2 separate regions of the Homo sapiens genome follow, and region 2 is linked to region 1. Evidence: promoter capture Hi-C in 16 types of primary human blood cells and fetal thymus (Javierre and others, 2016). All regions are on one chromosome and are shown on one strand. The core of a region is centred on a gene start or on the middle of the fragment in contact, and the rest is flanking DNA. Distances in the headings are between cores, read along the strand shown. Region 1 holds the start of HAPLN4 (hyaluronan and proteoglycan link protein 4). Region 2 has its middle 18 kb from the start of HOMER3.

What was found. Contacts are between HindIII fragments. The CHiCAGO score rates a contact against its expected background, and 5 or more counts as called.
Region 2: a fragment that was not itself captured here is called in contact with the fragment with the promoter of HAPLN4 in region 1 in 1 of 17 cell types (erythroblasts); the score reaches 5.9 in erythroblasts.

What each region holds. Positions count from the first base shown.
Region 1 is chr19:19,260,687-19,266,055 of GRCh38, forward strand. HAPLN4 (hyaluronan and proteoglycan link protein 4) reads right to left here and starts at 2,118. Exons shown (of 5, transcript NM_023002.3): 1 at 2,044-2,118; 2 at 760-877; 3 at 127-489. The coding sequence starts at 2,046. TM6SF2 (transmembrane 6 superfamily member 2) reads right to left here. Exons shown (of 10, transcript NM_001001524.3): 10 at 3,680-4,187. The coding sequence ends at 3,978. The HindIII fragment of the contact is 10,345 bases long and covers 1-5,369 here.
Region 2 is chr19:18,956,917-18,962,285 of GRCh38, forward strand. It overlaps the pseudogene RN7SL70P. Among named protein-coding and RNA genes, the nearest start is that of HOMER3, 18 kb to the left of the region's middle. The HindIII fragment of the contact is 568 bases long and covers 2,100-2,667 here.

The sequences.
Region 1 (5,369 bases), core at 868-3,367:
TGGGGGCTCTACCCCAACCAACCTTCTAAATGCCTGCAGGCCAACTTGATTTGGTTTATGTCCCTTGCCATCCCCGCCCCCCTCCTTCCTCAGAAGCAAGGTTTATCCTCCCCACCGGCTGATCACCTTCCAGGTCCAGCTTGACCATGCCAGCGTCATCTTCCAGCTCATTGGTGACTTCGCACTCATAGCGCCCGTAGTCTTGCAGCGTGACGTTGCGGAGGACCAGGGAGGCATCCCCAGGCCCGTCGCCCTGCAGCTCAGCCCGCCCACGGTAGCTGCCGAATGCCCGGTGCTGGGGGCCTAGTGCCACGAAGACGTCGGTGAAGGCCAGCGGGTCCACCACCTTTGTCCACTTGAGCCGGACGCCGTCGTGACCGTGGGCGGCTGCCTCATAGTGGTAGCGGCAGGGCAAGACGATGGTGCCACCACGGTGGCTTACCACCTGCCCAGGCGCTGTCTGTACCACTACCGAGCCCGACTCACCCTCTGAGGACAACCAAGCAGGGTTCAGAGGAGGGGCCTAGGGGCAGAAGGGGGCCTCTGGGGAAGGTGTCTCTGGGGAGGGGAACGTGGGAAGACTCGGGTGGGGGTCGGGGAATCAGAAGGGTCCAGGGGCTCAGGGAGAGGGCGAGGGGCTCAGATGGGGAGTGGCTGGGGGAACCGCGGACGTCAGGAACGCCCTACCCGCTACCCCTCTCCGCACTTGGCCACTTCTGCTTTTCGCGGAGAAGACCACTTTTAGCGGCCCTGACTCACCCAGCACGTGCACGACCTTCTTCCGGCCACGCTGCGCCCCCGCAGGGGCTGTGAGCAGCAGGACGCCCCAGGCCGCGGCCCAGAGCGCGCCGGGACCGAGGGCCGCCCGAGCGCACACCTGGGGGGCGGGCACGGGGCGCTCAGTCCAGCCTCCCAGCCTTGGCTTTTCGGAGGCCTGGCTCCCTCCCGGGCCTGCCTTCCCCACAGCGAGGACCTCTCTCACGCCCATGTCCCCACCCTTTCCGGGGTCCTGGAGAACTCCCCCTCCTCCTCTTGGGACCTCACATCCTAGCTTCTGCAAGAACCCACGCCCCTAGACTCCCCCCCGCCCTCAGTCCTGCCCCAGATCCCGCCTCATTCCCCCCCACCCCAAAACCCGAGGCTCGCTGCCCCGCCCCCTTCTGGCCCTGGCCCGGGCCGGGGATAGGGGGGTGGGGAAGAGCTGGAGGAGCGGCGGCAGCAAGGTTATCCGTGCGCCAGGAGACTGCAGCAAACCGGGCCGGGGCGGGCAGGGAGGGGGGAGAGCTGGAGAGAAAGAGGGAGAGACGCGGGGAGAGAACAGGGACAGAGAGAAAGGCAGGGAGAGGCAGAGAAGAGAGTGCGCGACACAGAAAAAGGGGAAGGGAAGAGAGAGAGGCAGAGATGGAGAGGGAGAGACAGATGGAAAAGAAGAGACAGATGTAGAGGGAGAGACAGAGATGGAGAGGGAGAGACAGAGAGGCAGAGGGAGAGACAGAGGGGCAGAGGAAGATACAGAGATGGAGAGGGAAAGACAGAGATGGAAAGGGAGAGACAGAGAGGAAGAGACAGAGAAGCAGAGGGAGAGAGAGAGAGGCAGAGGAAGAGACAGAGATGGAGAGGGAGAGACACAGATGGAGAGGGAGAGACAGAGAGGCAGAGGGAGACAGAGAGGCAGAGGGAGAGACAGAGAGGCAGAGGGAGCGACAGAGAGGGAGAGGGAGAGACAGAAAGGGAGAGGGAGAGACAGGAGAGTGCCAGAGGCAGAGAGACTCAGAGAAGAGGAGGGAGAGATAGGGACAGGGAAAGACAGAAACGGAGAGGAGAGGAAAAAGGCAGAGAGGATGACAGAGATGGAGAGAGGCAGGGAGAAATGGAGAGGGAGAGAACCTAGAGTGCCAAAAAGAGAGATCAAAGAGGGTGAGAGACAGAGAAAAGGAAGAGACAGAAGAAACTCAGAGGGATATAGATTCAGAGGCAGAGAGATATAGAATCCAAGATTGGGGAGACGGGGCACACACCACCCGCGCCCGCAGCCCCACTTACCATCTTGCCCGCGCGGCCCCCGCCGAGCGGCCCCTACGCACCCGGACTGCGCTCCCCGCACACCCGGTTAAGACTGGGCAGGTCCCTGCAGGCGGCGCAATCCCGGCGTCTGCCTGCAAGGGGAGGAGGAAGGCGGGCGAGGCGGGGTGTATTAAAGGGGCCGCGGGGGCCCACGCTCCCCTGGAGCAGTGGCTGGAGCGCGGGCGGAGAAAGAAGCGCTCTGGACTTGGAGTGCAGAGCTAGTTCCCTCACCCTGCTAGCTGAACTTAGGCCAGGGAAGAACCTCTCTGAGCCTCAGTTTAACCATCTTTGAAATGGAGGAGGGGGCTGAGTCTTCTATCTTGGTTACTGTGCTTTGGCAGGGGACCTGGGGGATCTGGTGAAAGAGATCATTTGGCCTGCAGGCCACCTGTCCATTGGGTAGTCATAGTGGAGTCCTGGTCTCCAGCACCCCAAAGGCGCTCCCTGTGCAGGGTGGGGGCCTCACGATAGTCACACTCTGCTGTGGACTGGAGCCACAGGCCCCAATTCAAGTCTGCCCCTCACTGGCTGTGAGACCTTGGAGGAGACAGTTGGCCTCTCTGAGCCTGCTGCTGACTCTTTGGTGAAGATCCAGTAGCTAGACATACAGTAGATCTCCGGTAGGGGTTGGGAGGGGCAAGAAAAAGGGACATCTAGGCCGGGCGCGGTGGCTCACGTCTGTAATCCCAGCACTTTGTGAGGCCAAGATGGGAGGATCACCTGAGGTCAGGAGTGCGAGGCCAACCTGACCAACATGGAGAAACTCTGTCTCTACTAAAAATACAAAATTAGCCAGGTGTGGTGGCACATGCCTGTAATCCCAGCTACTCAGGGGGCTGAGGCAGGAGAATTGCTTGAACCCAGGAGGTGGAGGTTGTGGTGAGCCAAGATCGTGCCATTGCATATCAGCCGGGGCAACAAGAGTGAAAACTCCGTCTCAAAAAAAAAAAAAAAAAAGAAAAAGAAAAAGAAAGAAAGAAAAGGAAAAGGGACATCTGGTCAAGGTCCCTGACTTACTCCAGGCCCAAGTCGCCCCTAAACCTGGCCTTTCACCCAATTTCAAAAAATCAAACAATAGCAAACAGTGAGTCTTTCTCCTAACACCTTGGCTTCCTTCCAGGACTCAGTTTCCCCTAAAATGAGCCCAACCCGACCAGATAGGAGAGGCAGAGTTGTGGTTTCTGTGGTCCAACAGGCTGGGGCTCCATCTCTTAGCTCAGCCATGCCTTGGGGACTGAGCGGGGGAATGATCTCAGACCAGGACCTTCACCTCCTGCAGCCTTGGTTTCCCCATCTGGAATATGGAGTGAGATCCAGCATGTAGCAGTCAAGGTATACAGTAGGTGCTTAATAAATGTATCATGCTATTAGTTATGATTTATTGGTAGAGCAGGAACTTTTCTCTCTGGCCATGACCTTGGGCAGGTCTCTTGTCCATACTGAGCCTCGGTTTTCCCATCTGGAAGATGAGCCGTGCATACCAACCAGAGGCCGCCTTCTGCTATCCCAGCACCTCTCACTCCTGGCAACCACGATGGCAGTGATAGGTGGGCCCTCATGGGGGCCAAGAAGAGGATCCCTTGCCCCTGCACCCTGAAACACTTAGGCAGTGATATTTTGGAAATTGAAAGGGTTTTTACTGAAAGGATCCATGGGGGGATGATGGGTAAGTTCTGGAAGGGGTAGAAGCGTTTGTGTGGGAGTTGGAGCATGGTGACAGCTGTGGGAGGCTCTCCTTGCAGGAACACTTGGTCGTTGGTCTCCATCCCACCCACTGGACTGAAACTACCATAGCCAAGACTAAAGACACCCGGAGATGTCCCTCCTGTCTCTAAAACACCCAACCCCCGCTTCCCCAGGTAGGGCTGACTGGGCACGTAAACAGAGTCCTGGGTCCTGAGTCCACAGCTCTCTCAATGCTGCTTCTTGTGGAGGGCTAGGGGGTCGGAGGGTGGTGGCTGGTGGAAGAATGCGGGCCACTGAAGGCAACGGTAGGCCAGCAGGTGGGGGCCCAGCGCATACAGCAGATTGCACACGAAGAAGCAGCCCCAGGTGTCCTCAGGCACACGGTAGGTGAAGGGTGTGCGCAGGTGCATGGAAGCCCCCATGTGCGAGAACTGTGCCTGGTAGCCAGACAGGGAAGATGGATGTCAGGGGCCAGGAAGGAACTGAAATCCCAGCATCACCGACAGCCCCCCAGGTAGGTCAGGCAGAACCCAGGGGATGCCCATCCCCACCTCTCGGGCTTTGCTCATCTATCTGTTTCCCATCTCCAGTCCATCTATCTGTTTTTTTTTTTTTTTTTTTTTGAGACACAGTCTCATTCTGTTGCCCATGCTGGAGTGCAGTGGTGCAATCTCGGTTCACTGCAACCTCCGCTGCCTCCTGGGTTCAAGTGATTCTCGTGCTTCAGCCTCCTCTGAGTAGCTGGGACTACAGGCGTGCACCTCTATGCCCAGTTAATTTTTTGTATTTTTAGTAGAGATGGGGTATCATCATGTTGCCCAGGCTGGTCTCGAACTCCTGAGGTCAGGCAATCCATCCATCTTGGCCTCCCAAAGTGCTAGGATTACAGGCATAAGCCACCATGCCTGGCCTATTTTTAAAATTTCTATCTATCTATCTATCTATCTATCTATCTATCTATCTATCTATCCATCCATCCATCTATCTATCTATCTATTTAGAGATAGGGTCTTGCTCTGTTGGCCAGGCTGGAGTGCAGTGGCACAATCATGGCTCACTGCAGCCCCAACCTCCTGGGCTCAAGTGATCCTCCAATCTCAGCCTCCCGAGTAGCTAGCACAGCAGGCACGTGCTACCATGCCCAGCTAATTTTTGTACTTTTTGTAGAGACAGGTTTTTGCCATGTTGCCTAGGCTGGTCTCAGACTCCTGGGCTCAAGCAGCCCTCCCACCTCGGCCTCCCAAAATGCTGGGATTACAGGTGTGAGCCACCTCACCTGGCCTTCTGTCTGTAAAGATTCCTGCCCTTACATGTCCTGTCTGTCCCTCCCTGTGCTTGTCCACTTGTCTGTGAGTCCCCCCCAACTTGCCTAACCCCATCTCCTGGGCCCTGCACCCCATCTCTCTCTGACCTGGCTCCAGATCCTCCTCCCAGTCTTCCCCACCCCAGAGGTCTTGGCACAAATCCTGTGGATTCTAAATGTTTTCCTGGTCCCTACTTCCCTGGCCGGGGCCCAGGATTTAGCACTTTTCATCAGGAACCCAGAAAAAGGCTCCTAGCTCTGACTGGGCCCCTCACTGCTCAAACTCCTCCTCAAACGCCCCATCACCCTCAGTACA
Region 2 (5,369 bases), core at 1,134-3,633, 300 kb before region 1:
TTTTTTAGTAGAGACGGGGTTTCACTATGTTGGCGAGGCTGGTCTCGAACTCCTGACCTCAAATGATCTGTCCGCCTCAGTCTTCTAAAGTGCTGGGATTACAGGCATGAGCCACCGTGCCGGCCTCTTTTCTGATTCTCCAAATAATGTATGCTCATTGTAAAAACAGTTTTAGAAAGCACAGACACGTGTAACGTAAATAATCTAAATAGGTCCCTTGTCATAGCGTTTAATTTCCTTTCTGAATTTTTAATACCTATTTACTTTATGCCTGGTGCTTATTGGTAAATTTTAAAATGCTGGCACAGGAAACAAACTAAGTAAACAAATTCAGATGCCATCCTTGCCCTTGGCCCTAGCTGACACGGACCAGGTGCTCTGTAAATATCTGTTGAGTGAACAAAATTTTAAAAATAAAATCAATGCCCAGAAATAACTGTTACTAACACGATGGTCTATTTCCATCTAGATTTTTTTTCTTTCTTTCTTTTTTTTCTTAGCCCAAATGGAATTACACTATACACATGATTTGTCAGTCAAGGCCAAATTCCAGTGTACATTCTTGAGTTCAGAGACTTCAGCATCACTCACCTTGAAGCTTTTCTATGGTTTGTTAAACAGATCTCCTATGGTTGGACATCTAGGTCACTCTCTGGGGACAGCCTAACAAATAGAATAACACATTTTCTTTTTTTTTTTTTTTTTTCTGAGACAGTCTCACTCTGTCGCCCAGGATGGAGTACAGTGGCGCAATCTCGGCTCACTGCAACCTCCACTTCCTGGGTTCAAGTGATTCTCCTGCCTCAGCCTCCCAAGTAGCTGGGACTACAGGCACCCACCACCACGGCCGGCTAAGTTTTGTGTTTTTAGTAGAGATGGGGTTTTACCATGTTGGCCAGGCTGGTCTCAAATTCCTGACCTCAAGTGATCACCGGCCTCGGCCTCCCAAAGTGTTGAGTTTACAGGCATGAGCCACCGAGCCCAGCCAAACACACGTTTTCAAGTTTTCTCCTTCTCCTTTTCCTTTTTTTTTTTTTTTTTGAGACAGGGGTCTCAGTATGTTGCCCGTCTGGAGTGCAGTGGCTATTCACAGGTGTGATCCCACTACTGATCAGCACAAGAATTTTACCTACTCAGTTTCCAACCTGGGCCGGTTCACCTCTCCTTAGGCAACCTGGTGGTGGTCTCCCGCTCCCTGGGAGGTCACCATATTGACACCAAACTTACTGTAGTCACCCAATTGGCATAGTGCACTACAGCCCAGAACTCCCGGATTCAAGTGATTCTTCCACCTCAGTCTCCTGAGTAGCTGGGACTACAGGCATTCATCCCTGAACCCAGCTTTTCAGCATTTTTGATGAATACTTAAGACCACATCACCTTCCATACAGGGGACCTTACTTGGCTCCCAGCAGTGATGGGTGAGTGTGTCCATTTCTCTGAATGTCTGACATTTGCAAATGAATGTTAGAGATATTTGCTTTGCAAGATGTAGATTAAAATCAGAAGCCATAAACCAGGCATGGCGCCTCGTGCCTATAATCCCAGCACTTTGGGAGGCCCAGGATGGAGGATCGCTTGAGTCCAGGAGTTCGAGACCAGCCTGGGCAACACAGCAAGATCCTGTCTCTACCAAAAAAAAGTTTTTGTTTTTGTTTTTGTTTTTTTGAGACAGAGTCTCACTCTGTCATCTAGGCTGGAGTGCAATGGCACAATCTTGGTTTACTGCAACCTCCGTCTCCCAGGTTCAAGCGATTCTCTCGCCTCTGCCTTATGAGTAGCTGGGACTACAGGCACGCACGACCATGTCCGACTAATTTTTGTATTTTTAGTAGAGACGGGGTTTCACCATGTTGGCCAGGCTGGTCTTGAACTCCCGACCTCAGGTGATTTCGCCCACCTCCTTGGCCTCCCAAAGTGCTGGGATTGATTACACACGTTTCCAAACAGTGGATCCCACAAGAAAAGAAGGTGTCATCGTAGGTGACAGAATGGAGGTCCCTGTCTGAGGGAGGGACCGCTGAGCCTCAAGTGAGTAGGCTACAAGGCTGGCAGGGAGGTCACCCCATCCTATGGCCTAAGATTGTCCCCAAACATAAAGCTTGAACCCTGAGGCCCCTTGATTGGTTTCCTTGGTCCTTGGCCAGCATTTAAACTCTCCTTTTTTTAAATTTCTTGAGACAGTTTCTCACTCCGTCACCCAGGCTAGAGTGCAGGGCACAATCTCGGCTCACTGCAACCTCTGCCTGTTGGGTTCAAGTGATTCTCCTGTCTCAGCCCCCATGAGTAGCTGGGGCTACAGACATGCGCCACCATGCCCTGCTAATTTTTGTATTTTTAGTAGTAACAGGGTTTCACCATGTTGATCAGGCTGGTCTTGAACTCCTGACCTCAAGTGATCCACCTGCCTCGGCCTCTCAAAGGTGCTGGGATTACAAGGGTGAGCCACCGTGCCCAGCCTACACTCTCTTGACAAAGGTTTTTATAAATCCCAATTTGGCTGGGTGCCGTGGCTCATGCTTGTAATCCCAGTACTTTGGGAGGCTGGGGCCAGGGGATCACTTGAGCCCAGGAGATTGAGACCAGTCTGGGGCAACATGGCAAAACCCATCTCTACAAAAAATAAAATAAAATTAGCCAGGCATGGTGGTGCATGCCTGTGGTCCAAGCTTCTTAGGAGGCTGATGTGGGAGGATCGCTTGAGCCCAGGAATTAGAGGCTGCAGTGAGCCATGATTGTGCCACTGTACTCCAGCCTGGGTGACACAGTGAGACCCTGTCTCGGAAAATAAATAAATAAAAGACTGTCTGGGCCAGGTGCCGAGGCTCACGCCTGTAATCCCAGCACTTTGGGAGGCTGAGGCGGGCAGATTGCTTGAGCCTGGTAGTTTGAGACCAGACTGGCCATCATAGTGAAATCCCATCTCTACTAAAAATAAAAAAATTAGTTGGGTGTGGTGGCGCACACCGATAGTCCCAGCTACTTGGGAGACTAAGGTGGGAGAATCACTTGAGCCTGGGATCAAGGCTGCAGTGAGCCGTGATCAACCTCTGCACTCCAGCCTGTGTGACAGAGTGAGGCTCTGTTTCAAAACACCACCAATGACAAGAAAACCCATGACCGTCCGGGCGCGGTGGCTCGTGCCTGTAATCCCAGCACTTTGTGAGGCCGAGGTGGATGGATCCTGAGATCAGGGGTTTGAGACCAGCCTGGCCAACATGGTGAAACCCCATCACCACTAAAGATACAAAAAATTAGTCGGGCGTGGTGGCACGTACCTGAAATCCCAGCTACGTAGGAGGCTGAGGTAGGAGAATCGCTTGAACCCGGGAGGTGGAGGTTGCAGTGAGCCGAGATCGTGCCATTGCACTCTAGTCTGGGCAACAGAGCAAGACTCCGTCTCAAAAAAAAAAAAAAAAAGAAAATCCATGAGCACTCAGACCTGCAGCCAGTGAAGGCAAGGTAGAGATGGGACCCCACCCTTCAGCCTGTGTCTTACATTTTTAGGGGGCTAATTTAATTTAGAATGTCCAGCAGGGAAGTGTGTCTAGCTGTCCAGTGAGGGGAGCCTCAAGCTATCTTCCCACCTCAGCCTCCCAAACCACTGGGATTACAGGCATGAGTCACTGTACCTGGCCTGAAGGTCCCTTTTACAGATAAGAAAACTGAGGTTCAGGGCCGGCTTCTGCCCCTGCCCAACCTGCTGGCTTCTTCCTCAGCCAGCCCTCTCCAACTACTGCCTATTTCTTTTTTTCTTTCTTTCTCTTTTTTTGAGACGGAGTCTCGCTCTGTCAACAAGGCTGGAGTGCAATGGCATGATCTCGGCTTACTGCAACCTCTGCCTCCCAGGTTCAAGTGATTCTCCTGCCTCAGCCTCCTGAGTAGCTGGGATTACAGGCATGCACCACCATGCCCGCATAATTTTTTTTTTTTTTTTTTTTTGAGACGGAGTCTCGCTCTGTCTCCCAAGCTGGAGTGCAGTGGCGCGATCTCGGCTCACTGCAAGCTCCGCCTCCCGGGTTCACGCCATTCTCCTGCCTCAGCCTCCCGAGTAGCTGGGGCTACAGGCGCCCGCCACCACACCGGGCTAATTTTGTTTTTGTATTTTTAGTAGAGACGGGGTTTCACCGTGTTAGCCAGGATGGTCTTGATCTCCTGACCTCGTGATCCGCCCGCCTTGGCCTCCCAAAGTGCTGGGATTACAGGCGTGAGCCACAGCGCCCGGCTCTTTTTTTTTTTTTTTTTGAGACAGAGTCTCACTGTTGCCCAGGCTGGAGTGCAGTTGCGCCATCTCGGCTCACTGCAACCTCCGCCTCCTGAGTTCAAGCGATTCTCCTGCCTTGGCCTCCCTAGTAGGTGGGATTACAGGCGTGCACAACCATGCCCTGTTAATGTTTGTATTTTTAGTAGAGACGGGATTTCACCATGTTGGCCAGGCTGGTCTCGAACTCCTGACCTCAGGTGATCCACCCGCCTCAGCCTCCCAAAGTGTTGGAATTACAAGTGTGAGCCATCATGGCCAGCCACTACTGCCTATTTCTGCATCTCCTGTTCCAGACAAACGGAAGAAACAAGGCCATTTATTGAGCGCCGGTGATATGCTGAGCGCTCAACCTGCATCCTCAAAGATCGTCGATCCAACAGCCTGCTAGGAGTGGATCAATCGAGTCACAGAGGGGGCTCGACCCCCACTCACTGTAGAGAGGGGAAAGCTGAGGTTCAGAGGTGAAACGATACTCCCGGGGTCACACGGCAAGGACATGTAGGGGCAGGTTTTGGGACGAGGCTATTCCTGCATCCACGGTATAGAAAGAAGGCGGGGCGCAAAGGTCAGCCGGTGCTAGGGACCAGACAGCGGCCCATAGGGAGGAGTGGACTTGGGTCCAGGATGCGCCTGATGGGGCGGGGCTATCTTTATTGGGTGGGCAGTGCAGGACCAGGCTGCCCCATCAGGTGGAAGCGGGGCGAAGTGCACCTGTGCAGAGGGTTTGGGGGCGTGGCTAGAGGCTGAGATGCGCCGGGTGGGCTGGGGCTGGGGCTGGGGCTGGGCGGAGCGGGCGGCTCAGCACTGCAGCGGAAGAGCTTTCTTGCTACACGCAGTTGAGGCTAAGCTACCAGCAGGATGAAAGGATCCTGCTGTGGGTGATCGTGCACAAATAAGGCTGCGAGGTCACGTCGTCCATGCACTGAGAGAAACGAGAGGACCCCCGGCCTCAGCTCCTAGTCCAGCAAATGGAGGCACCATCCTTGACTCCTGTCTGTGCCTGTCTGCGCCTCAGCAAGCCTCAGTCTCCATATCTGTCGAATGGGCATGCCATCCCCGAGATGGAAGGGACCTTTTGTGCACCAGAGCTGGTCCCTTCCTTGTG